2 separate regions of the Homo sapiens genome follow, and region 1 is linked to region 2. The links are contacts of gene promoters, found by promoter capture Hi-C in blood cells and fetal thymus (Javierre and others, 2016). All regions are on one chromosome and are shown on one strand. The core of a region is centred on a gene start or on the middle of the fragment in contact, and the rest is flanking DNA. Distances in the headings are between cores, read along the strand shown.

Region 1 (2,700 bases), core at 69-2,568, 240 kb after region 2:
AAGAGCCTTCCAGATATTATAAAATTAAATCTCCTAAACACGATAAGAGGTAACTATAACTACCATGCTACAATGTGGATAAAGTAACATGTCTGGCTCTGACTTCAGAACTCACATCCTTAATCTACATTATAAAGTTTGTCCAGGAGGTTGAGTGGACATAAGATAGGAAAGTTAGGCTAAGGCAGACACGGAGGAACTTGATTACTAAGCTAATATATTTACACCTTATTCTGTTTAAAGGAGCCACCACTGGGAGGATCAGAGCAGGTGAAGGATGTAAGTAAAGTGGGTTTGCTCCTGCAGGAATATACAGACTGTTGATCTCAACCTTGGCTGTGTGCTAGAATCACTGAGAAGATTCTGATAAAATACCCATGTCTGCCCCTGCTCCTGGTCAGCTAAATAAGACACTCTGGGTTGCTCATTTCCCTCATTTACTTAAAACTTTCCATTGCCAAGATATAGTCAAAATACTTACCTTGGCATACAAGGTTGTCCAAGGTCTGATCCTTGTTCACCTCTTGTGTCTCACATCACCCATCTTTATTTATTTATTTATTTATTTATTTATTTATTTATTTAGAGACAGGGTCTTGCTCTGTCACCCAGGCTGGACTGTGGTGGCGTGATCTGGGCTCACTGCAACCTGTGCCTCCCAGGCTCAAGCGATCCTCCCATCTCAGCCTCCAGAGTACCTAGGACTATAGGCACGTGTCATCATGCCTGGCTAATTTTTAATTATTATTATTATTATTATTATTATTATTATTTTGTAGAGATAAGGTCTTATTCCCAGGCTGGTTCCCAACTCCTGGGCTCAAGTGATCCTCCCAAAGTCTTGGGATTACAAAGGCTCTGAGCCACTCCACCTGGTCTTAAGTCTCTCCTCTGATTTCACCAAACTCTGCTCATTCAAAATAATTTGGGCCTATGCAAGCTCTCTCTTGCCCGATGACTTTGTTTTCTTGTTCTTTTTTTCAATTGTTTGGTTGAAAACCCAAGGACTTAATAAAAGCTTTTCTTTCTTTTCAGAATGCTTTTGTTTCATATCTTCTCAAGGCTGGCTGTCTCTCTTTTTGTCAGCCTAAAGGTCACCTCCTCACCTATGTACTTCTTGATCATTCTACCTGAATAAGTTGCATAATACCTGCACTCTTGCCCCTCAGCCCGCTACCATCAGAGCACTTCATGTTTTGTCAGTGTGTGTTTGTGTAGCTGGACTCTAGACTCCACAAGGCCAACGGACTTGTTTTGCTCACCCCATGCATACTCAGAGCCCAGCAGTAATATCTGTGGCATAAGTTAATGAGAAGGCATATCTTGAATAACTTAGTTAATGTCACCCAACTCATGAGGGCAAAGCCTGGAGACGAACACAAGCTCGAAACCATCATGGTGCTCTGCTGGAATATGGTGGTTTGCTCATTCATTCTTGCTTTTGTTCATTCATTCAGAGAACATGTTTTGGATTGATAATATATGCTAAGCCAGGTGCTAGGGACACAGATAAAATGGTCATTGATCCTGAGAACATAATCTGGACAACTTTAAGTGAATACAGTCACAGAGGGAGCAGGGCACTGCCAACTGATTTCAGTGCTCAGCTTGGTTTCCTCTAAGCTTCTGTACTGAGGCTATTACAGGGTAGAGAAATTCTCAGTCTAGTGGCCCATGGTGAATTTTCAGACAAATCTGAAGGTTTTGGATTGAAATAGTAAAAAGTTTGAGAACAAAAGTTTCATCAATTAATTAACACGTCAAAGGGCACAGATCAGAAGAGATACTAACTTGAACCACAACTTACATGAATAACAGCTGAAAACAAAACAAATAACAAATTTCGCAGAACACTTCACCACAGCATAATGAACAGAATTTTCCAAAACCTAGACCCATATGAGATTTTCTATCTCATGCGTTCTCTGTCTCTCTGCTCTCTCAATTCTCTAAAAGAAGAGATCTCTGTGGTTTTCTCTTTATTTCTAGCTCTGTGTGCTTCTCATTTCTCTGGAAAATCTAAAATGTCCTCAGAGAGGACTTTCTGGCCCTCTTCAATCTTCCCAAGGCTGATTCTTGAAATGCTGCCTTAGGATGTCTTTCCTTTGGTTTAAAGTTTTGCTCCTATTAATATTTTAAATTTCTTTGTAGTCTCAGTGGATATATCTTGGTGGTTATATGTTATCCAAAATTTTTTTCTGGGGTGTAGGTTCTTGGAGGAAGTCTCACCAGAGGCCTGAGGCTAGCCTTGGTGAATCTATGGACTATGCTGTATATGGAAGCAACAGCCTGAATAGCAGGAAATAATCTGAGACGTAGCTTTAGGCTCGATGTACAATGCAATCACCACTTCTTTCTTTTCCTTTAGCAACATATTGGCTTGACCAATAGGCAACAGGTAACAGGTAACAATGCTTCATCCTTGTCATCAGTTTTTACTGTTTTTTGGGGGTGTGTGTTATTATTGTGGCTTCTTCAGAATAGTCAAGTAATTTTCCTTAAAAGAGAAAAAATAGGCAACATGAAATTAAGTTGATTAAAAGAATGTGAATGGGAAAATAGATCAGCATAGTGTTAAGGATATTAGCTTTGGTGACATTTGAATTCTCACTTCCATTTACAGACTCCATAGTAATCTTGGTAATCTCCTCTCTCCACCCTAGTTCCCTCTTCTGCAAATAAAGAGTGTAATAGTACCAC
Region 2 (2,700 bases), core at 5-2,504:
CACACATGAATACTGCCATAAACATTACTTCGCCTTCCTGCAGACCAACTCCGACTCTGCATGAAACAGAAAATCAGAACATTTATTTGGTACTAATCAAATTTCTTTTCATAATCTTTTACGGATAGACAATACCATTGTATCCCCATTTTAAGAGGCAGTCTTTCAGTCTTTTCAAAGCATAACTTTGAAGCCAGAATTGCCTCGGTTAGATTTCTTCTTATTATTATTATGATGATTTGAGACGGAGTCTCGCTCTTGTTGCCCAGGCTGGAATGCAATGGCACTAACTCCGCTCACCCGAACTCGGCTTACAGCAACCTCCGCCTCCCGGGTTCGAGCGATTCTCCTGCCTCAGCCTCCGAAGTAGCTAGGATTACAGGCATGCACCACCACGCCCGGCTAATTTTGTATTTTTAGTAGAGACGGGGTTTCTTCATGTTGGTCAGGCTGGTCTGGAACTCCTGACCTCAGGTGATCTGCCCGCCTCGGCCTCCCAAAGTGCTGGGATTACAGGCATGAGCCACGGTGCCCGGCTCTTCTTATACTTATTATTTGCTTGCCTTAGACAAGTAACTTCACCTCTCCAAGCCTGCATTCTAATGCAAAACGAACACCAATACCTATTTTATGAATTATTGTAATAATTAAACGAGGTAATACCATACCTGAAGTATCTTTAATGCAGCAGATGTCAAAAGTGGTAGCCGCAATTATTTTTATTTTGTAAGGGAGGATTAAACACATTTAAATAGGACATCACAGGAGCGGAGCTGGATCCCAGGTCAGCCTGATTCCTAGGCCGGCGTTCCTTATTGATTACAACATAAGGCAAACAAGTCGTCTTTGGAGAGAGAGGTTGGGGAGAGAAGAATGTTTAATTTCTCCATGCCCTTCAATGACATGTATAACCTTCACTGTTGACCATTTGGCCAGATTGTTGAATTATGTTTTGCTCTCTGGCAACTTGGGGTGTGGAACGTACAATAAAAACGCCTTCACACTAATAACCTCCAGGCCTGTCCCCAGGATTCTACAGCATGAGCTTTGTGGGTAAAGAGAGCTCACCAAATTCAGCCTCCAGCAGCACACACAGCTCAGTAGCAGCGCCCCGCCCAGATGTTTATATTTTCCTCCATCGGCCCCGCCCCCCGACCATGAGGGGCTCTAGCCACGCCCCCAAGCTCAAGTTTCTGGGGCCGGACTAGCCCAGCGCGTCTGCCTACCCATAGGGATTCCCTCTCCAGCCAATCCAGTCAGAGCAGCGGAGCTGCCCCGAACAAAGATGGCGCGGGAAGCGTCTGTGAGGGCAGACTGATCCGAGCACCCAAACCCTCGGCGGACAGCGGAGCCAGTGGTAGCCGCACGGCCCTAAAACCATGGAGGAGGGCGGCAGCACTGGCAGTGCTGGCAGTGACAGCAGCACCAGCGGGAGTGGCGGGGCGCAGCAAAGGGAGCTGGAGCGCATGGCTGAGGTCTTGGTCACCGGGGAACAGCTACGGTAAGGCAAGAGACACAGCGGGTGAGCTCACGATGGCACTGCCAACGCGTGCCCGCTGCAGTCCTGCGCGCACGCGCTCCCTGGCTCGTGGCTTGCGACTCGCGTGGGGCGCCGGAACGGCTGCGGGCGCGTGGATGGTCCTCGGTGCGCCCGCGCTTAGCTGCTGCAGCCTCGGTCCCTGAGGACTCGCTCGCCAAGCGGGGCTGCCTGGCAGAAGCCGACGAGCGGGTGGTGCGCGCTGCGCCCTAGCCTGGCTGCTGCAGTCCTGTGCCGGGCAAAGTCCCTGCCACCCACCGCGCTGTCCGTCTTCCCGTGTACCTGGACGCCGCCAGGCCTCCCGGCTGACAGCCTGCGCCTCATCCGCGAAGAGAGCAAGAGGGGTCGCTGTGGGGTCCCGAGGCGACCCCAGCCCCTCTACTCCTTGATAAAAGGAGCAAGACCAACGATAGTCTTCACTAGGTTTTCCTTTTTGCTGACAAGTCTTCCTTCACTCCCCTGAGCCTCGGTGTTTTACATCTGTAAAACAGGGCTGATTCAAGGGCTTTTTGTGAGGTTAAACTGAGAGAGCATTTCTGAAACCCTGCACCTATCAGTTAATTGGCACATCGTCCTCAATCATTTGGGTCCGCAAGGGGGCGTGGAGGCACCTTGTCGGGCTGCCTTGAGGCTGTGCCAACTCCCCGGGCTCGCACGTTTTGGGCAGCAGGATCCATGGGGACCCTGGCTCCTGCAAGAATTAAGACTTGCGGCGTCTCACGGAACTTGGGAACAAGGACGACCCCCAGAATCCCCCTTGCCATTCCCATCCCTGTATGGTCCTTCCTCTAGGGCTGTTTGGGAATAGTACTTATGGTCTAACTGGTTCTGCAGCTGCCCTTCGTGTGGTTATAAATCAGTTTGCCAGGAAAAAGAAAACCCAGCTCTGCAGCGTTTGAGCCACAACTTGTACGCGGGCCCCTGTTACTTCTAGTTCTTAGCCTGAATTCCCCAGCTTGTTTTGGTTTCTAAATGTCTGTGTTTCAGGACCTGAAAGAGTGTCTTGCAAAGGTCTCTGAAGGAGACCAATATTGGAAGTCAGAATTAACTGATTTTTAATGTTACAAAAGGCAAATTGCACCTATCGATTCTTTGTTGATTTTTAAAAATACGTGGTCAGAATTAAAGGGAATAAAAACTTTTTTTCCTTCATCAAAAGTACT

What was found. Contacts are between HindIII fragments. The CHiCAGO score rates a contact against its expected background, and 5 or more counts as called.
Region 1: a contact is called between a fragment that was not itself captured here and the fragment with the promoter of DEPTOR in region 2, in 6 of 17 cell types (M1 macrophages, erythroblasts, M0 macrophages and 3 more). The highest score is 7.7, in M1 macrophages.

Annotation. Positions count from the first base shown.
Region 1 is chr8:120,112,516-120,115,215 of GRCh38, forward strand. No RefSeq gene overlaps it. Among named protein-coding and RNA genes, the nearest start is that of COL14A1, 11 kb to the right of the region's middle. The HindIII fragment of the contact is 605 bases long and covers 1,017-1,621 here.
Region 2 is chr8:119,872,468-119,875,167 of GRCh38, forward strand. DEPTOR (DEP domain containing MTOR interacting protein) reads left to right here and starts at 1,255. Exons shown (of 9, transcript NM_022783.4): 1 at 1,255-1,501. The coding sequence starts at 1,380. RefSeq lists enhancers at 1,082-1,376, 1,117-1,617, 1,293-1,552, 1,618-2,118, 1,753-1,852 and 1 more and a silencer at 1,101-1,273. The HindIII fragment of the contact is 2,864 bases long and covers 1-2,700 here.